Regions from separate parts of the Homo sapiens genome. Here regions 1, 3 and 4 are each linked to region 2. Evidence: promoter capture Hi-C in human tissues and cell types (Jung and others, 2019). All regions are on one chromosome and are shown on one strand. The core of a region is centred on a gene start or on the middle of the fragment in contact, and the rest is flanking DNA. Distances in the headings are between cores, read along the strand shown. Region 1 overlaps ATP8A2 (ATPase phospholipid transporting 8A2). Region 2 holds the start of AMER2 (APC membrane recruitment protein 2). Region 3 overlaps ATP8A2 (ATPase phospholipid transporting 8A2). Region 4 overlaps LOC105370119 (a long non-coding RNA gene).

Region 1 (5,191 bases), core at 533-3,032, 200 kb before region 2:
ATTATATGATAAGCTTTACAGGGGCAGTAAGGGAGGGAAGAAATGAACCGTCAGAGCAAGAGACCTATTCACATAAACAAGCACACATGTATCTATGGTAATATTGGGCCCAGTAACCCTCCCCCACCACAGCTGGGGAGTGACCAGCATCATTCATGTGCTCTTTTTTTTTTTCTTTAGAGGAAGGGTCTCGCTCTGTTGTCCAGGCTGGAATGCACTGGTGCAGTAGCTCATTGCAGCCTCAAATTCCTGGGCTCAAGCAATCCTTCTGCCTCAGCCTCTCAAGTAGCTGGGACTACAGGCATGTGCCACAATGCCTGGCTATTTATAATTTTTTTGTAGAGATGGGGTCTCACTATGTTGTACAGGCTGGTCTCGAACTCCTGGCCTCAAGTGAACCTCCCACCTGGGCCTCCCAAAGTGCTGAGATTACACACGTGAGCCAACAGGCTTGGCCATTCAAGTACTGTTTTGTTTTGTTTTGCTTTGTTTTGTTTTGTTAGAGAGAGAGTCTCACCCTGTTGCCCAGACTGGAGTGCAATGGTGCAATCTTGGCTCACCACAACCTCCACCTCACAGACTCAAGTCATTCTCCTGCCTCAGCCTGCCGAGTTACAGGGATTACAGGCACGCACCATTACCACTTGGCTAATTTTTGTACTTTTAGGGTTTCACTATGTTGGCCAGGCTGGTCTTGAACTCCTGACCTCATATGATCCACCCGTCTCGGCCTCCCAAAGTACTGGGATTGCAGACATGAGCCACTGTGCCCAGCCATCCAGGTACTTTTACGACAGATCTATGCAGGCAGACCCAGGCAGCCACTGGGGTGTGACAGGTCCCCACTCCTTACTCTATTCCTGGAAGGGCTCTCTCCTGTCCTGGAGTAGGTCCTGTTTCTGTGTTTGCCCTTGATAATGATGGGGAGAAACTCCCAAGGCATGGAAGTGAGATCACTTTTATTTTTAGCCCTTCTTAATGGTTGTTAACATTTGTGCTGAGCACTTTTCCCAGCCTAAGTGGATGTAAATAACATCTTGTATCCAGTGTGGTATTGACCAGAAGTTATATTTAGTAAATGTAAAGATCCAAGGAGGAAGAATAGAGACCCTTCTTTAGAGGCACTGTATACACTTCGTCTCATAAATGCTTAAAAACTTTTTCGAAAATAACTGTAAAATATTCCATTTGTCTAGCTGGCACCTCTGAGGAGGGTTTAAGATAACACATCCGTTGTAAATGTAAAATCAATTACTGGACAACGGAAGGCGTCCGCAGAGGTGCTTATTGGCCACCTGTGGGGTAGAAGACGGCCTTGTAGTCAGGACTTCTTTCAACAGAAGGTGATGACCTTCAGAGCCACTACAGGATGAACACTCTGTCCAGAATCAGAGCTCCTGGTGAGTAAGCGCTTATTTCTGCAATCATTTACACCTGGATAATGACAGTAAAAGAACATTTAAATTCTCCTGTGATGACTATGAGGTCCTCTCCTAGTTAGGCCTCCATCATTAGATTTAGAAAGGAAAATAATAACAAAAGTTTTGCCAATTCTTCTATTACATAGGATAAATACCTAGCTGGAGGACTTTGCCTTAGATGACGATGGGCAGCATGGGAGAAATCTAACATGTTGTCGATATCATCTTGATAATGTGTCAGTTAGTGCATGCACTTATATGCACATACCCACAGACCACTACCAACCACCCATGAAGTGCAAATTCTTATTTTTATCTTTATCTGTAACAGAGGTAAATGAATCTTTTGAATGCCATATAGGTAGAAATGACAGTGTTAAAACCTGAATTCAATTCTCTTTAACCCTAAATTCTGGGGTTTTAACCCCTAGATATACTGCCCTTAAGAAACTTCCAAACAGAATCTAGACCATTAGACCAAGTCCAAAAACTGCCCATGACAGAGTTCAGTAAAATCTGTAATTACTGAGCACACAAAGGGTAGTATAGGAAATGGAAGCAGGAGAAATTAGATTATTATCTTTATTTCTTATCAAGGAAGAGAAAACCATATAGAATCAATGAGCGTATTCTGTTGCATTTAGATCTGATATTGAACTAGGCAGGTGGGCAATGATAAGAACCACACTGGACTTGCTAATTAGCTTGTCCTGACAGAAATTAAGCAGCAAGTAAGGAATTTCTCCGAATTTTTTTTTCATTTGTAAAGTGAAGGGATCAGACCATCTCTGAGATATCCTCCAGCTATTACATTCTCACATTAGCACGGCTTGTATTTTCAGCTGCCCTGATTCTCCTCCTTGAAACTTGGGGCAGGTTGTTCTGGCAAAAACAGAAAACACACATTAAAAAATACCTTTGATGACCAGCAGAGGGCAGGGTGAGTTGGGTGTGGAATTTAGAGGAGGGCTCCAGGGGCAGTTTCTAGAAGGTTTGTAGTCCTGGTCCAAACGGTGGCTCACGCCTGTAATCCCAGCACTTAGGGAGGTCGAGGTGGGTGGATCACGAGGTTAAGAGATCGAGACAATCCTGGCCAACATGGTGAAACCCCGTATCTACTAAAAATACAAAAATTAGCTGAGTGTGGTGGTGGGAGCCTATAATCCCAGCTACTTGGGAGGCTGAGGCAGCAGAATTGCTTGAACCCGGGAGGCGGAGGTTGCAGTGAGCCGAGATCACACCACTGCACTCCAGCCTGACGACAGGCTCAAAATAAAAAAAAAAAAAGAATATTTGTAGTCCTCTGGGTTCTGCACTTGGTCTGTGCACTTCCTGCCTGCCCGTTCTTTCACTAAGTCCAGAAATGCGGTAAGATAGGGAAGAGCTTCTGCCATAGACAGCACTGATGCTGTCGTCCATAGAAAACAACTTCCTTCCTTTCTGTCCCCACTCCTCCCCTCCCACAACCCCCAACACCCATATTCACATGTACACCCTTAATTTCCTTACTCATCTGGGTCAAGGTGAGAGAAGAGAGTTGAGAGCTCTTCCCACGTGCACTGTAGTCACTGCCTAGACCATAAGCTCTGTGAGACACACTGCTGTGTTCCCTGCTCTGTCTCTAGCACCTAGAACCATGCCGGGCACATAGAAGGCACTGATATATATTTGTCACTGACTTTGTTTCCATTCTAAGGGGCTCCACCCTGAGCAGACTGTAAGCACTATACGGGCAAGAGGATCCCCATGGTCACAAATCTTTGGATTTTCATCATTTGGTAAAATGAGACACACTGGCACCAAGTAGATATTTGGGGAAAGCTAAAACTGATCAAAGTGCAATTGAATATGCAGAACAAGATAAGAGTCAAAGATGGCTCAGACAAGAAAATATTCCAGAATTATTTTTAAAAATAGTATACAGCTCAGCATATACTCTTGAAGCTGACTGTGATCTGCAATCCTTTCATCATTAGTTTATTTTTTAATAATGAGAAGTAGCAGACTTCACTAAAAATCACACATCTTTGTTTAGTATTTTTATGGGAGTACACGATTGTCAGGCCCTCTGCCCCTGTTTCCATCAGTGTCCCCAGGAGCCCACACTATGCAGATCCTCTTTCTTCTCCATACATTATGCAAATACCCTAAACAGGCCCCATCTCAGAGCCTCCACTCTGTCTCCTGGAACTTTCAGCCTATCATCAGCAAGATCCCTCACAACCCGACCCCTCTGACTATTCCTGAAACTTCTTGCCTTAACTGCTCTGCCAGGAGGACCCTGCTTCTCACGGTTACTCTCAGATCACTGCCTTCCCCCCTGCTCCCTAAAAGCTTCCTGCGTTGATGTTCATGCCGTCAGACTGTAGAACAGTCTCAAAACAAAGCGACCTCTCTTGAACTCACATTTTCCTCCAGCTACCACTCGATCTGCTTCTCCCCCTGCCTTTTCTGCAATATTCACTCAAAAGAGTTTTCCGGACTTGCTGTTTCCAGTTCCTGTCCTGTTACTCTTACACCTGCTCTATTAGGCGTTCTTCCCCACAATGATATGTTAACAGCTCTTTTCAAGATCACCAGTGACCTCCACTTACATGACAGTTCTCCAGCCTCATCTTTATTGAGCTCAGCAGCACTGGGCACAGGTACACCCCACCCCTTCCTGAACATCTCCACACTGAGTTTCAGAGCACTCCCTCCGGGTTTCCGGGGACCTCCCTGGCCATCCTCTCAGGCCCCTTCTGTTGACCCTCATCTCCCTAACCTCAAAATGTTAGAGTGCCCAGGACTCTATCCAAGGACCCCTCTTTTCTAAGTCACATCTGTACACATTGACAGCTGATCACATAATTCTTAGGGGCCCGTGTAAAATGAAAAGGTGGGCCCCTTGTTCAAAAATTAAGACTTTCAAGACAGCAACACTGGGCAGAACATCCAAGCAAGTGCTGACTCTTGTAAGAGCCAGACTCTGAGCAGCTGCAGGGCATACACTCTTGGAGCCGGTCCTGCCGACGACTCTTGAATCTCTATGTCTGGCCTTGCACACTCCCCGGAGCCCCAGACTCATAAATCCAGCTCTCTACTAATCATCTCCTCTTGGATCTATGGTAGGCATTTCAGACCAAATTCTTCACACCCTCCCTTACCGCAAAAGAGAACCCTGGTCCTCCGCAGTTTCCCCATCTCAGCAAGGGGTGCATTCTTCCGGTGTCTCAGACCAAAACCCTTGGGGGCATCTTTGATTCTTTTCTTGTACTGAAGCCCCACATCCAAATCATAAGCAAATGCCTTTGGCCCCACCTGCAAAGGTACAGAGGGTGTCCCCAGGTCTCCTCAGGCTGCCTCCACCTTGGGAAATTCTCACACCTGTATGACTGCGCCCTCCCACTGTCTCTCTGCCACAGCTCTTCCCTGCTATTTAGTCTTGACCCTGCACCCCGTGACCCCTTCAGGCTGGGATTCTCCTCAAAATGAATGTGAAAGTGTCCTGACTTTACCCAAGTTTAACAAACATTGGCTTAAATTACCTGATAAGCTTGCTTCCCTCTCACGTTACTCAACTACAGAAATACAAAAGTCGCTTATTTTTATGTGCCTATTTTCTCAAAACAAATAAAAAAGCACGAAGACAAGTGACCCCAGCTCCAAACTGTACACCCTCTACCTTCCTCATGTCAAAGATCTACCTGCAAACTTGCCGCAGTCCTGAAACGGTAAGAAATCATTTTTGGGGCTCCTCTTTACGTCTGCATTAACTAATGGTCTAGGTA
Region 2 (5,507 bases), core at 167-2,666:
TTTGTCTCTTTCTCTTTGTTTGAGTGTTGATGTCCCAAAAGAATGATATCCATCCCAAAGTCCTCTATCAGATTTCTCCCAGGAGGCCCAAAGATTCTCATGTAAATTAGAGTCACATTTGACCTGTCCTGATGGGTGAATAAGCAGACCACTTTCTCCCAGTGGAGAAAGGGAGATTTTTTAATAGGCGACTTACTTTTCCTTGATCCCAGTCACAAACTCTTCCAAACTGACAGAGCTACATAGTAACCCACAAATCTAAGCAACTGTATGGGTGTGTGTGTGTTTGTGTGTGTGTGTGTGTATGTGTGTAAAATTGAGAGACTTTCTATTGTTCTTCAAAAGGTTGTAAAGACGTAACAAATGGGTTTCTCTTTACAGTTCCTTACACGTGGTCTCCCCAGAAAGCACTGAGGACTCTGATTCATCATGTCAAGCGGTCAATTAGAATCCGGGAAAGCCTCTCTCTGGCCTCACCTTACTTCCTGTACCAGGAGAGATGCTCATCAATAGTGAGAAAGAGTTGATGGGATTAGAGTCTGGAAGTGACAACCTCTCCTGAACCTGAACTCATTGATTTCTTCGTTTTACAAAACAGTGTTCTTGAAAAAAATAAACAAAAAAAGGAAATAATACAACTAAGAACTCCAAGGTCTAAATTTTAACCAGCTGTATCTCATAACAACAGAAGCTGCAATGGCCAACATACGTCATTTATAAAACGCCAACTTATGTGGATGGGGATTGGGATTTATTGGCCTAATGCAAAGAGCATATAAAAAATGAGTAGGGAAAAGACTACTGTTTGTGTATATATGTAATTATTACATATATTCTTAAATGATATTTAATAAATAATCAAATGATTAAATAATATATACTATATATACATGTTATATTTATATATGTATATGCTTCTCCAAATTTCTTTTTGCTAAAAAGCACTCAGCTGGGATTATGAAATCAGATGTCAAGATTAGAATATTAGCAGTCACTTTTTAAATCAGAACACAGAACAGATCCCTAGACTGAGCTGTTCCCAGAAAAAAGGTTTTCCCTCTCCCCAGACCAGGCAGGTAGGAATGTCTGCAGAGATCCCTGGACACACAGGGACCCCTGCCAAGCTTTTCCTGCTCTGTACATTGGGGAAGGGGACTACAAGTCAGCCCTGGTGGTATGGGGGAGGGGAGTGGTACCGCAGTGACAGGAATAATGCCACTGTCCTGCTGAGTGGGAAAGGAGAGGGCAGAACCCGGACTCGAAGGCCCACCTGTGGAGTGGGTCTGAGATTCCCAGCCTGTGTGTCTCGGTCAGCTTGTCTATTGTTATCAGATGTGGGCTGTGCCGCAGCATCTGTGACTTCATCCCGTGGTGGCTGGAGTCTGGGATAAAAGTCATGGTTGTCCCAAAGGTGCAGGCAAACTCCACCCCGGGGAGCTGTTGTGCTTGCATTGCTGGGCTGCTGATAGACTGATTGAGTGGTGGCGTGTACTTTTGTCACAAGAACCATAACCACAATGACAGCCACACAGCATGGACCTAGCGTGTGCTCAGCTCTGGACAAGACATGGATGTAGGCAGACATGCTTCCTGCCTGCTGGGCTTAGTGCACCAATGCTAAGGACAGACATGAAGGGCTTGGGAAAGGCATGAAGATGCAGGGAGTCTAGGAGAGAGGATAAGAAAAACAAGCATTTTGTGGTGGGTTGAATTGCGTTGTCGTTTTTAGAGGCATTTCGTGATCCATGGTTGCGCTCCCGTGAAGAGCGAGTCTAGAGAAGGAATCCGAAGGTGGGTGAGAGTTGAGGGAATTTGAATTCCATAATTACGACTCGAATTTCTGCAATCAGCTCGCGGCTGTGTTGCCTGCTCCTGCCACAAAAACGCCATGCAGCGCCGAGCCAAGTCGGATGGAAGTGGGTTAGGGTATTATATAAGCCCTTGCGGGAGGGAAGATGGTCTTTTATGTGTGTTTCTTTTGCAGCGGCGGCGGCGAGCGCGGCTCAGGTTGATTTAGAATACGGGTGACAGTGGCCTGGCGCGAGCCCACTGCTGACGAAAGCGGCTTATCCCGCGCGGTTTCCATGGAGACGAGCCGGAGCCGCGGCGGCGGCGGGGCTGTCAGCGAGCGCGGCGGAGCTGGCGCGTCCGTGGGGGTCTGCAGGAGGAAGGCGGAGGCCGGGGCCGGGACCGGGACCCTCGCGGCAGACATGGACTTGCATTGTGACTGTGCCGCCGAAACGCCGGCCGCCGAGCCGCCGTCGGGGAAGATTAATAAAGCTGCCTTCAAATTATTCAAGAAGAGGAAATCGGGTGGCACCATGCCCAGCATTTTTGGGGTCAAAAACAAAGGGGACGGGAAAAGCTCGGGTCCGACGGGGCTGGTGAGGAGCAGGACCCACGACGGACTTGCCGAGGTGCTGGTGCTGGAGAGCGGCAGGAAGGAGGAGCCGCGCGGCGGGGGCGACAGCGGCGGGGGCGGCGGGGGGCGGCCGAACCCGGGGCCCCCCAGAGCCGCAGGGCCCGGCGGGGGCTCCCTCGCCAGCAGCTCGGTGGCCAAGTCGCACAGCTTCTTCTCGCTGCTGAAGAAGAACGGGCGCTCGGAAAACGGCAAGGGAGAGCCTGTGGACGCGAGCAAGGCCGGCGGCAAACAAAAGCGGGGGCTGCGGGGGCTGTTCAGCGGCATGCGCTGGCACAGGAAAGACAAGCGGGCCAAGGCGGAGGCCGCGGAGGGGCGCGCGCCCGGGGGCGGCTTGATCCTACCCGGCTCGCTCACCGCCAGCCTGGAGTGCGTCAAGGAGGAGACGCCCAGAGCCGCGCGCGAGCCGGAGGAGCCCAGCCAGGACGCCCCGCGAGACCCAGCAGGTGAGCCCGCAGGGGGAGAGGAGGTGCCCGCCCCCGCCGACCGCGCCCCAGCGCGGAGCTGCCGAGAGGCAGAGGGCCTCGCGCACCCCGGCGACACCGGCGCCCGGGGAGAGGACGCCGCGGGGCATCGGCGCGCCGAGCCGGGGCCCGGGGAGGTCCGCACGGCAGAGGACGCTTCCAGGACGGGGGCCGTTCCCGTAAAGACGGTCCCCCTTGTCGACTCCGAAGGCGGCAGCGGCCGGGCGCCCGCCGCCCCAGACCCTGCCTCTGTCGATCCACCCTCAGACCCGTCGGCAGATCGTATTTGTTTGATGTTTTCTGACGTGACTTCACTGAAAAGCTTTGACTCTCTTACAGGCTGTGGAGATATTATTGCAGACCAAGAGGAAGAGGCAGGTCCCAGCTGTGACAAGCATGTCCCCGGGCCAGGCAAGCCGGCTCTGTCTAAAAAGAACCCCGGCGTGGTGGCCTACCAAGGAGGCGGGGAAGAGATGGCCAGCCCGGACGAGGTGGACGACACCTATCTACAGGAGTTCTGGGACATGCTCTCCCAGACCGAGGAGCAGGGACCCGAGCCCCAGGAGGGCGCGGCTAAGGTGGCAGCTGCGCTGGAAACCAAGGTGGTGCCCGAGACCCCCAAAGACACCAGGTGTGTGGAAGCGGCCAAGGACGCGTCCTCGGTCAAGCGCAGGAGGCTCAACCGGATTCCCATCGAGCCCCATCCTAAGGAGGAGCCCAAGCACCCGGAGAAGGAGCAGCAGGAAGGCGTCCCCAACAGCGACGAGGGCTACTGGGACTCCACCACGCCAGGCCCAGAGGAAGACAGCTCGAGCAGCGGGAAGAAGGCGGGCATCCCCCGGGATAGCTACAGCGGGGACGCGCTCTATGATCTCTATGCTGACCCGGACGGAAGTCCAGCAACCCTTCCTGGAGGGAAGGACAACGAGGAGACGTCCTCCCTGTCCCGGTTAAAGCCCGTATCTCCAGGCACCATCACCTGTCCACTGCGAACACCAGGCAGCTTGCTGAAGGACTCTAAGATCCCTATTAGCATCAAGCACCTGACCAACCTTCCATCTAGCCATCCCGTGGTGCACCAGCAACCCTCCAGGAGTGAGATGCCCAGAACAAAAATCCCGGTTTCCAAAGTGCTGGTCCGCAGAGTCAGCAACCGGGGCTTGGCTGGGACCACCATCAGAGCAACGGCCTGCCACGACAGTGCCAAAAAGTTGTGAGGTCTTCCAGGCCAAGGTGGATGGGCCCCATGCCAAGGAATACAACTTTTCCCTGGAAACCACTAAAGTAAGTTTTGCTTTTCCTAAAGAAAGTCTTTTAGGACACCACCCGTCCCCCGCCCTGCTCCAGAGCGTGGACCGAGGAGGTCTTTGTGCCCTGAGCAGGGACCGGATAACACCAGAAAGAGGGATGCTACACGGGGGTTTCTCCTCTCAAGATAAGTCCCTGAGAATTATTTTCAAGCACTTTTTTCTTTTTTACCTTTAAGTTTTTCTTCCTTTTGCTTTAATATACTGAACACTTGGAAGTCACCTTTACTTGCCTTTGCAGAAAACAGAACTTAGCCAAACCTAAGTAAGAGTCATGCCTGGATATTGGGATAAGCCAGTGTCTAGAGGCCTGAAGGAACCGCTGAAGAACCAGAGGAGATCTCCTCTTCCAAGACACGTTTCCTTCCTTCCCTTCTTTCCTCTTTCCTTTCCAGTTAAAAAAAAACAAAAACAAAAACAAAACCCTTTGCTGTATCACTGTGTGGAAAATACCTCCAAAGCTGAAAGAGCCAGGTATTTACCTGATGAGCAGAGGGGACCACTGATTGGCAGAAAACTTCCCTACGTTCAGTTGTTAGATATGCAAATTGATAAGGATCTAACACTAGGAAAATAAAGGCGAGTTTTGGTTTGGTTGGTTTCAGTCATTTGTTTGGGGAGATATAAAAGGCTCAGGAGAGCAGGCTTTTGCTTTTGCTTTTGTTTGTTTCTTCCCCCACCCAGTGCAGAAATCAGGATCAGGGAAAGATTTTATTAAATGCCAATAGATACAGTATTTAAGCATTTATAAACTGAAACCTTTTCATGTGAAGATAATGCATATTTTACCGTTTATCCAGCTGTTAACATTTTGTAATCAGTCAATTCAATAGAATTATTCTGGATAATTCTATATCTAGAATATAAAATCTGGTCTTATAGCTAGACATGATGATGGTCCCCAAACCATTGATGTTCTGTTATGTACTGTAATGGGAAGCGATTCTGATTTTGTTTTATATGGGTTCTCTGGTTCTCAAAAAAAAAAAAAATCTATTGTGCTGGTGTCCCAGAGGAATGGCTCTGCCTTGTTTTGGGTAAGAGTCTGTTTCTCACCCCAAACCCTGTTTTCAGATTTTTTTTTACCTTGATTGTAAAATTTCAGATCCAACCATTCCTCAATATAATGAGTGCAAAATGAGGAACACATAAAGAAAAACAATAGAAAGATACAGTTTTTCACATCATTTGCCTTTTGCTTTATAGACTTATGACAAAGACAAGTGTGTTCAGAATATGACACTGGCAAGCTTATGTATTGTAAACACTTTATGCCAAGTTTTTTTTGAAAAGTGGTTTGCTTCTATGTATGTTTTC
Region 3 (5,284 bases), core at 578-3,077, 220 kb before region 2:
CAACTGGGTAATTGTACATATGAAAGCTGTAACCCCAAAATAAAATTATAAGCTCCCCAACCGACTGAATGGATCCCCTCCCAGCCAAGGGGATTCCAAGAAGTACTGAAAAACTAGCTCAGGCCATGATAGGAAGGAGGGGGTCAGACATACCTCATTATACATTCTCTCTTTTGATGTTTAGGCGCAAATGACCATCATTAACATTAAAGTAGAGATCCAAAGACTGACAAAATAGACTCTTTTTAGCAATAAGACCCCAACTCCAGTCTGCTCTGGTGTAGCATCACATGACAGATAACAGGCTCTAAAGGTAATCAAAGTATTTACCCCAAAATATATTTTTTTGACATATTTTGGAATGGCCCTGCAAAGCCATCTCATGTGGGGAAAATTTACATTCTGTAAGGAATCTCCTTCCATTTCCAGGTCTTTTCCTGATCCAAGAGATTAACTAAGAGTCTGACACCTTTTAAGTTCTGATAAGAGACATTTACCATCTATTCTCCCTAAGGCTGCTACCTGGAGGCTTCATCTACATAACAGGACCTTGGCTTCCACAATCCCCCTTATCTTAACCCATGCATTTCTTCCCGCTGCCTTCAACAATTCAGGTGAAGCTGAACTCTTTCAACCAATTGTCAATCAGGAAATCTTTGAATCCACCTATGACTTGGAAGCCCCCACTTTGAGATGTCACAGTTTTCTTGGCCAAACCAATGTACACCTTATATGTATTGGTTTATGCCATTGCCTATAACTTCTAGCTCCCCAAAATGCATAAAATCAAGCTGTAACCCAGCCACCTTGGGCACATGTTCTCAGGACCTGATGAGGCTGTCACAGGTCATGATCCTCACATTTGGCTCAGAATAAACCTTTTCAAATATTTTACAGAGTCTGGCTTTTTTCCTCAACAAAGCATAATGACCAATAGTAAAGGAAAATTCTCAGGGTTTCCCAGTGAAGAGAAAAATGGGTCCCCAGAAATGGACCCATATTGCAAGCAGCCCGTCCTGGAGTGTGACTGTGCACTGAGTCAAGGTGGGTGAGGAGCAGAGAGGACCCCTCCACGCCTTATTAGGAAGTTGTGGTCATGGGCCAGCAGCAGCAGAGTAGGCAGGCTGAAAGGGACCTGAGCGTCACAGGATTTCAACCACTTGTTCATAGAGGCTGGTGTTTTATGACTTGACAGAAAAATATCAGTATATTGATGGTTTTGATAATTCATGTGGACTTTCACCAGGTCCTATAAGAAGGAGACAAGCCTTTTTCTAAGGTGCTATAGGACAACTGTCTGCATGGCCTTGGAGACCCAGCTCTTCCCCTCCTCACTGGTAGTTCCTAAGGACAACTGGAGAATGTGCTGGGAATGCGACAACCTGAGATAAGGAGGCACTGACCAGAACAGCCTAGGCTCTGTTCCCGTCTTCCTAGAACAGGATGTCCAGCAAGGCTTTATTTAACTCAGCGAAAACAGCCACCCCCACCCCCACCAAGGGGCACGCCTTTGGTGTCAAAGACAAGACTCCATCCGCCTTGGGCAGCTTTCCTGAACCCTGAGGGACTGGTCCGCCATGGGCCCAGGCTTCTACCATCTCTTGCTGCCTATCTGTGAGTAATAAAGCTGCTTTGCTGAAAGCTTGCTGTGTGAGTGTTCTGTCTCACCACAGTCATGCCAGTGGATTGATAACATTGCATATATTGGCAAAGTTTTTAGAGTCCTCCCCGCAATAGATGTGTCTGAAAAGCCTGAAAGTAGAAAGGAAAGGAAATGCATACTTGCTAGTGGCAGGCGCTCGCCCACAACTAAGAGTCAGTGTTAAAAACATGAAATTTCCAGCCCCAAAATAGAGTTCGTGAGAGCAAAGATTGGGAACATGAAGATAGTAATGCACCCAAGAGCACCCTCATGATTGCAGGCTACCCGGGGTCAAGGGCAAATTAGGCCATGTTCCTAGAGGTAAGAGCCAGGACAGAAGCCGGCTGGGACTGAGAAAACAATACCCTAAAATCAAGGCCTCAGAAGCAGAAGTTTCTCTCTGACCTTCTTTTGCCCTATTGTCTCTCAGTCCCATCATCCCCCAGGCTAGCCATAAAAACTAGAATCCCTCTTCCTCAAGGTAGGTCATAGAAACTAGAACCCCTTTTCCCCAAGGCCAGCCATAAAACCTAAAAAAAGCACTCTAACTTTTCCTCTTTCTGTGTAAAAACTGGCCATAAGAAAGTTATCTGACCTACCTTGTTTGACTGTAGGCCCTAAGTTCCTCATTGCAGAGAGGATCCCACTCCACACCAAGAAGGAAGATAGGCTGCTCCAAGAGAACGAGAAGAATCCAGACAGGCAGGCCTTGCTGGGTTTCCCCACTCAGTCTATTAACATTGGATCAGGGCTGGGCGTGGTGGCTCACACCTGTAATCTCAGCACTTTGGGAGGCCAAGGCGGGCAGACCACGAGGTCAGGAGATCAAGACCATCCTGGCCAACATGGTGAAACCCCCTCTTTACTAAAAATAAAAAAATTAGCTGGGCATGGTGATGCACACCTGTAGTCCCAGCTACTCAGGAAGCTGAGGTAGGGAAAGCTCTTGAACCCAGGAGACGGAGGTAGCAGTGAGCTGAGATTGCGCCACTGCACTCCAGCCTGGGGACAGAGTGAGACTCCGTCAAAAAAAAAAAGAAAGAAAAATTGGATCAGCCAGACACAGTGGCTCGTGCCTGTAATTCTAGCACTTTTGAAGACTGAGGCAGGGCGATCACTTGAGGCCAGGGGTTTGAGACACCCCTGAGCAACATAGCAAGACCCCATCTCTACAAAAAAATTCAAAAATTAGCCAAGCATGGTGGCACATGCCTGTAGTTCTAGATACTCAATAGACTGAGCTGGGAGGATCGTTTGAGCCCAGGAGTTCAAGGCTGCAGTGAGCTATGATTGCACCTTTTCTGTCCAATCATCTCTCTTCCTGGCTCTCCATACTTTGTTAAACCTAAGCATAAAAATGGACAATTTTCCTTTATCTTTTGGTCTTTATTCTGAAGGCTCCCATGTATACGTTAATAAATGTGTATGCCTTTTCTCCAAGTAATCTGCCTTTTTTGAGTAGATTTTTTCAGCAAACTTTCAGAGGGCGAAGGGAAAGCTTTCCCTTGACCCCTACAAGCCACAGAACTGAAGGTGAGGATGACAAGCAGAGTCTCAAGGCATTTTTAAAAAAGACAGAAGCCCCCTCAGGCCCAAGACAAGATCTCTGGCTTTGGTAACTAAGTGGACACATTGCAGATGGACCAGCAGCCTACTGAGGGATGACCAGAAGAATGCCAATAGTGGGTGGAAAACCCTGCCCCTCTACCATCCTAGGTTCAGGAGCGAGGGCCCTGCTAATCAAACTGAAAAAAGACAAATGAAGAGAAGAAAAGACATGCAAATTTTATTTGACATCATAGTTTTAGGAAGACATAGAGTCTTTGTATGTATATAGAGAGAGACCCAAAGAAGTACATAGGCTAGAGAGCTTACATACTACTTCAACAAAGAATGATAAATTGTGAAGCTGTGACAAGACAAAGGAAAAGGGAAGGCTTCTAAGGGCAATAAATTGTGGGAGGGTAAATATGTGGGGAAATTAATGGAAGATAAGGCTGCTTTAGTAAGGCTTGTCATGCAGGCTCCACTCACTGCTCTGGGCTGATAAGACTCTAGTCATCTCAGGTGACGAAGAGTTATTGTGCTTTTTCTGGTATGGGAGAGGGAGACACTTTTACAAATGGAAATTTATGTTCTGTTTTTAGCCAGATAGGGGAAGGACAGTAAGCCTTTTTTTTTCCTTTCTGCATCTGATGTTTCTTAATTGCCTTCAGCTCAAAATAACCCTTAGTCCAAAAGGCATATTTCAGGGTGACATATTATGGTCCCCTTCACAGGCCTGGCAAGCCTAGATCTGACCTATGTCATCAATCCGGCCAGCAATTGGTCTCTGCCGCCTCCTGCTTTGTCTTTATCTTCCTCTTCTGGTTGGTTGCCCCTCAGGCTCGGGGGCACAGCCTGGATTCAGCCTGCCACATCCTAGTTAGACTTGGAGTTTTATTTTGTCTTGGTTTTCAGTTTGCTTCTTTTATTTTGTTTTCTATTGTTAAGTAAAACACAGATACCAAAAATTACACAAAGCAAGTTTATGTCTTAATGAATTATCCTGAGCAACATCTTTGTTGATGCCTGCCTGAATCCAACTTCCCTGCATCACTGCTAGCCAGTAATGAGCTCTCCTTCCACTAGACTCTCAGCCTACCAATGGCCAGAACAGGCAGACATGTCTAATCACACTATAGAGAACAAGCCAAGCTCATCTACAGGCTGTAAACTCCACCTAAAATACTGAAACCATCCATCAGAATCTTTACAACCTGCTTTAAAGATGCACTTACAAGGTGATGACAGTTACAGTGATCATTCACTTCATTTTTTTAAAACAACCAGGACAATAAAACAGTACTTATAGAATAACTATCAAAAGCTAGGCAGTTTGCAGTTCCTCTCATTGATCCTAAGATAATATTCCTGTTTTATAGGTTACTACACTGAGTCTTGGATAAGTTTCATAGTTTTCCCAAGATCCCATGATCAATGTTCAAGATTCAACCTCAGTCTACCTGATGCAGAACTCTGGACCCTTCCCAGCTAACCCCACTGTCTTATGTCAGATTGTCAATAAATGTGTACTGAGCATGTATTATAGTCAAGGCATGCACAACATAAAATGAACCTCAGATTCCTAAGATGCTGTAAGTTATATAGAGGAGTCAAAAAGTATATAAATAGGGGCTGGGCACAGTGGCTCATGCCTGTAATCCCAGCACTTTAGGAGGCCGAGGCAGGCAGATCACCTGAGGTCAGGAGTTCAAGACCAGCCTGGCCAACATGGTGAAACCCCATCTCTACTAAAAATACAAAAGTTAGCTGGGCATGGTGGTACATACCTGTAATCCCAGCTACTCTGGAGGCTGAGGCAGGAGAGTCACTTGAACCCAGGAGGCAGAGGTTGCAGTGAGCTGAGATTGCACCACTGCACTCCAGCCTGGGTGACAGAGTGAGACCCTGTCTCAAAAAACAACAATAAAAAAAGTATGTAAATAGGTTGGGTGAGGTGGCTCACACTGGTAATCCCAGTACTTAGCCAGGAGTTTGAAATTAGCCTGGGCAACATAGTGAGATCCCATCACTACAAAAAATAAAAGATAATTAGCCAAGCATGGTGGCACGCGCCTGTAGCCCCAGATACTCAGGAGA
Region 4 (4,945 bases), core at 906-3,405, 140 kb after region 2:
CACCCAGTTTATGGCATTTTGTTATAGCAGCCCAAACCAAATAAGAAGACCGCCAGCCAGTTCTACCTAAACAGTCCCTCCATGTGTCCACCATCCTGAGTCCCCATTACCACGCCTTGTCCAGACCCCAGCATTTCTGTGACTTGATGCAATATAAGTTTACTGCCTAAATAACAGGTACAGGACTTTGTGTGGACAAATGTGCTCTTTTCTCCTGGGGTAATATCTACGTACAAATGACTGGGTCACGTGGTAGGTATTTTTAACTTTTTAAAAAACTACCAAACTGTTTTCCATAGTCTTTGCACCATTTCACTTTCCCACCAGCAATGAATGAGTGTTCCAGTAACTCTGCATTCTCAACAGCACTTGTTATCATCAGCACTTGTTATCATCACCTTAAAGAGTTTCAGCCATTCTAAAGGTGTGTAGTGGTTTTCTCCCCACCTTTTAATTTTCTTAATAGTGCCCTTCAAAAAACAGAAGTTTTTAATTTTGATGAAATCTAGTTTACCAATTGTTTTCTTTTATGGATTGTGCTTTTTGTTGTTACATGTATGAAATCTTTGCCTAACCCGAGAGTGCAATATTTTTTTTCCATGTGTTCTTACAGAAGTCTTATATATCTATGTTTTACATTTAGGTCTACGATCAATTTCAGTTAATTTTCATATAGGGCCTAAGATATGGATTCAGGTTCATTTTCTGGCACATGAACATCCATCTGTTCCAGCACCATTTGGTGAAAAAATGATACTTTTCCATTGAATTACTTTTGCATTTTTATTGAAAATAAGACAAAATTCCAAATACCATAATCCTGAATGCTAAAATCCCAAAAGATCAAAGATCCTAAAGTATAAATCCCTAAAGTCTAAAATTCTGAAAATCACAATCACAGGATAGGGTTTTTTTTCCTTTTCTTCTATTTTTTTCACTATTTTAAATAGCAAAACAATTCACTATGCTATATATTTCATCGTTGCATCATTTCCAAAACTTGACGTATAGGTTGTGCAGAGACGTTTAGAGAGTCCTAATTTGTTTCATGCATTTTTTTGCAAATGTGACTCCATGAAAGTTCATTATCTCAATGTTGATTTTGTGTATAAACATTGTGTATGTACATGAAAACATTGAAACCTCCTCAGTGATGTCCTTTTTGTACACCTGCATTTGTAAAAGACAACATTTTTTGAGATCTCAGCTCTTTGGGTGACTGCATATGTAGTGGTAATCCATTGTGGTTTTTGATCAATCTTGTCAAAAGACTTCGGTTTTTTATCACAGTATTTCAGATGAGCACATATACAAAGCTGGTTGCACACAATTACCAATCATAGTGATATGTGTTTACACATTTTCCTTTTGACCTACTTCTTTAGGAATACAGTTTATCTGCTCATAAATGCTATATCTGTGCCAGGTATAGTCGTATACCTGAGTATTTATTCTTGCAAAAACATGTACGCTAGTATTGCTTCTTTTATTGTGTAAAGCGGCCTATGAAGTGTTCTGTTGTGTTTTTATATGTTTCTCAAATAAATCCCCCCCTCCCTTTTTTTTTGAGATGCAGTCTCATGTTGTTGCCAAGGCTGGAATGTAGTGGTGTGATTTGGGCTCACTGCAAACTCCGCCTCCCGGATTCAAGCGATTATCCTGCCTCAGCCTCCCGAATAGCTGGGATTACAGGCATGCACCACCAGGCCGGGCTAATTTTTGTATTTTTAGTAAAGATGGAGTTTCACCATGTTGGCCAGGCTGGTCTTGAACTCCTGACCTCAGGTGATCCACCTGCCTCAGCCTCCCAAAGTGCTGGGATTACAGGAGTGAGCCACTGTGCCCACACCCACTCCCCTTAAAATGTAAGTAAATATCTTCAGGAATTTTTAAAATTATTTTTTCCAGAATTATATTTTCAGGATTTTGGATTTTAGGGATTTTTGATCTTTCAGAATTTTAAGAGCTGGGATTGTGTCTTTCAAGACTGCTTCTTCAGGGACTATGACGGGCTTCCCTCTAGACAGCATGGGCTAGGAAGCATGTTCTGGAATGTGACATTTAAGCTGAGAACTGAATTGTACAAAAAACCTAGCCACGCCAATTACCCTAAGTGAATTAATGCAAAAATAGAAATCCAAATACCACATGTTTTCACTTATAAGTGGGAGGCAAGCATTGGGTGCACAGGGACATAAAGATGGGAAAATAGACACTGGGGATTCCAAAAGGCAGGAGGAAGGGAGAGGGTTGAAAACTTACCTATTGGGCACTGTGTTCACTATCTGGGTGATGGGATCAGTTGAAGCCCAAACCTCACTGTCATGCAATAAATCCTTGTAACAAACCACTCACGTAGCTCCTGAATCCAAAAGAAAAAAAAAACCAAAAAACAATATTAACTTTTACCCGAAAACCACCTAGCCACAGAAACCAGGGGGCAGTGGTGGAGAGGAGGCCCCAGGAGGATTCTAGGTGAGGTGGCTGGACATGCAGAAGCCCTGCTGGGGAAGGAAGAGGTTTTGTGTTTAGGAAGTGAAAGCCCAGGTAGCTGAGCTGTGGCGAGCCGGGAAGAATGAAGGGATGAGACAGCAGAGACACAGGCTTCGGTTCTGGGGGTCCTGCTGCTGCCCCACCTCCTCAATGGTCCTCCTGGCCCCTCTCTGCTAAGCAGGAAGCAATGGCATCTTTTTTTTTTTTTCTTTTTTTGAGACGGAGTCTGGCTCTGTCGCCCAGGCTGGAATGCAGTGGCGCAATCTCGGCTCACTGCAAGCTCCGCCTCCTGGGTTCACACCATTCTCCTGCCTCAGCCTCCCGAGTAGCTGGGACTACAGGCGCCCGCCACCACGCCCGGCTAATTTTTTGTATTTTTAGTAGAGACGGGGTTTCACCGTGTTGGCCAGGATGGTCTCGATCTCCTGACCTCGTGATCCGCCTGCCTTGGCTTCCCAAAGTGCTGCGATTACAGGCATGAGCCACCGCGCCCGGCCACAATGGCATCTTTTACCCATGAAGTTGTCGGCACAGTTGGGAAATAGCAGGCAGTTCCAGCGGAGTTTCTCAAGGCTTGGATTTGGCTAGGAAGTTAGGCGGTAGTGGGGACAGACTCAGAGGTTTTAGGAATGACCACCCTGTTTCCAGTATGTAGGAAAATGACTTCTTGAGACAGAAAACTCTGAAATTCTTTTTTTTTTTTTTTTTTCAGATGGAGTTTCGCTCTTGTCACCCAGGCTGGAGTGCAATGGTGTGATCTCGGCTCACTGCATCCTCCGTCTGCTGGGTTCAAGCGATTCTCCTGCCTCAGCCTCTCAAGTAGCTGGAATTACAGGTGCCCGCCACCATGCCCAGCTAATTTTTGTATTTTTAGTAGAGACGGGGTTTCGCCACGTTGGCCAGGCTAGTCTCGAACTCCTGGCCTCAGGTGATCCACCCACCTCAGCCTCCCAAAGTGCTGGGATTACAGGCATGAGCCACCACACCCGGCTGAAATTCTTTTTGTTTTATTTTTGTCAAACTTGGTGGCAGAGTGTGCAAAAGAACAGAATGAGGTTTTGGAAATGTTGGATTTGTAGTATTTTTGTGATGTCCGGTTGAAGATGTGAGGCAGCCAGTTACAATTGTGGATCTGCAGCCTGTGGGAGAGCCCTGGGTTATTGGTGTGAATTCAGGACTTGGTGGTGGGTTCCTTTCCTGTGGTTGCTGTAACAAAGGACCACAGCACAGCGGCTTGAGCAACAGATGCCTTCTCCTTCATGGCTCCGGAGGCAGAAAGCCTGCGGGCGAGGTGTCATCAGGCTTCTCCTAGGGCTGTGAGGGGCCTGCTCCAGGCCTCCATCCTCACTTCCGGCAGCCTTGGGCACTCCTGGGCTTCTAGGTGGCCACCTTCTCCCTGGGTCATTATGTCGTCTTCCTCTGTGTGGTTCTGCCTCTGCATCCAAATTTCCCTGCTCTGTAAGGACCCTGGATTATGCCCCACCCCAATCACCTAAAGCTTACCTGCATCCTCTGCAGATACCTTTTTTCTAAATGGGCCACATGGATAGGTACTGCGGGCTAGGACTTCAATGTCTTTTGGGGGACACAATTCTACCTCTAGCAGATGGTGATGCAGCTGTAAGCCTGGGTGACATCACCTGGAGAGAGTTAGGGGTAAGAGCAGAAGAGGCCACGTGCCCAGCCTGGAAGAACTGTGTGAGTTCATAATAACAGTGGCCAAGGAGGGGAGAGAGGAGAGAGGCGAGGGGAGCAGGCAACAGGGAAACACAGAGGCGGCAGCCCAGAGCTCGGAGGAGGAGAGGCTGTGAAGGAGGGTGAGGTATAGTCTCAAATGCTGCTGAAAGGTTAAGTATGTTGCAGTAATTTGAAGGCTAAAACATGCCATTGGATTTCATAGTCAGGCATCACCTGTGCCCTGTGCCTGAACTGCTGTGGTGTAGATGAGCCTGGCTGAGGAAGCAGCCAGCCAGAGGGGAAGGAGTGGAGCCAGGCTCCGGGCCTGCTTAAGGGTTGGAAGAGGGTAGACCAGCTGCCAGAAGGCGCATGGGCTCGGGCAGGGAGAGGCTTTTAAAAACGGGAGGGATCTTAGAAGAAAGAGGATCCAGTGGGTTGGAGAAAGTAAAGGGGTCAGCACGGCAGGTCCGGGAGTTGAAGGAGCAGCGGTGAGGGCTGACTGAGCAAGCGATCTGCGATCTGCTGGGAGAGGCTCCGGCGCTGATCCCATAGATTCGCAGCGATTTCGGAAGATGAGTCCGGGGTGTGGCTGTGGGAAGGATGGTCAGACATATTTTTCCTCTATTGTATTAATGTCTTATGTGAAGATGGAGTAACCTCTTGGCTACCTAATATATATATACATATATATATATATATATATCTATCACATCTTCTCACACATTTAATTGTAAAAATGCTCCTACTTAATCCTAATCCAGCCACCTTCTGTGCA

The links. The method cuts DNA at HindIII sites, captures the fragments that hold promoters and counts their contacts. A contact is called where the count stands out against the background at its distance.
Region 1: a fragment that was not itself captured here is called in contact with the fragment with the promoter of AMER2 in region 2 in 2 of the 25 tissues and cell types used here (dorsolateral prefrontal cortex and spleen).
Region 3: a fragment that was not itself captured here is called in contact with the fragment with the promoter of AMER2 in region 2 in 2 of the 25 tissues and cell types used here (IMR-90 fibroblasts and spleen).
Region 4: a fragment that was not itself captured here is called in contact with the fragment with the promoter of AMER2 in region 2 in 1 of the 25 tissues and cell types used here (spleen).

The regions. Positions count from the first base shown.
Region 1 is chr13:25,373,103-25,378,293 of GRCh38, reverse strand. The region is part of intron 1 of ATP8A2 (ATPase phospholipid transporting 8A2); the gene reads right to left. Among named protein-coding and RNA genes, the nearest start is that of ATP8A2, 3.7 kb to the right of the region's middle. The HindIII fragment of the contact is 5,148 bases long and covers 1-4,356 here.
Region 2 is chr13:25,168,197-25,173,703 of GRCh38, reverse strand. AMER2 (APC membrane recruitment protein 2) reads left to right here and starts at 1,416. Exons shown (of 1, transcript NM_152704.4): 1 at 1,416-5,507. The coding sequence starts at 2,085. The coding sequence ends at 4,100. It overlaps LINC00463 (long intergenic non-protein coding RNA 463), which reads left to right. Exons shown (of 4, transcript NR_120428.1): 4 at 382-880. RefSeq lists an enhancer at 1-557 and a silencer at 2,837-2,926. The HindIII fragment of the contact is 4,196 bases long and covers 128-4,323 here.
Region 3 is chr13:25,393,249-25,398,532 of GRCh38, reverse strand. The region is part of intron 1 of ATP8A2 (ATPase phospholipid transporting 8A2); the gene reads right to left. Among named protein-coding and RNA genes, the nearest start is that of ATP8A2, 24 kb to the right of the region's middle. RefSeq lists enhancers at 27-628, 629-1,230. The HindIII fragment of the contact is 4,979 bases long and covers 1-4,316 here.
Region 4 is chr13:25,031,907-25,036,851 of GRCh38, reverse strand. LOC105370119 (a long non-coding RNA gene) reads left to right here. Exons shown (of 3, transcript XR_941760.4): 3 at 1-2,350. Among named protein-coding and RNA genes, the nearest start is that of PABPC3, 62 kb to the left of the region's middle. The HindIII fragment of the contact is 8,497 bases long and covers 1-4,945 here.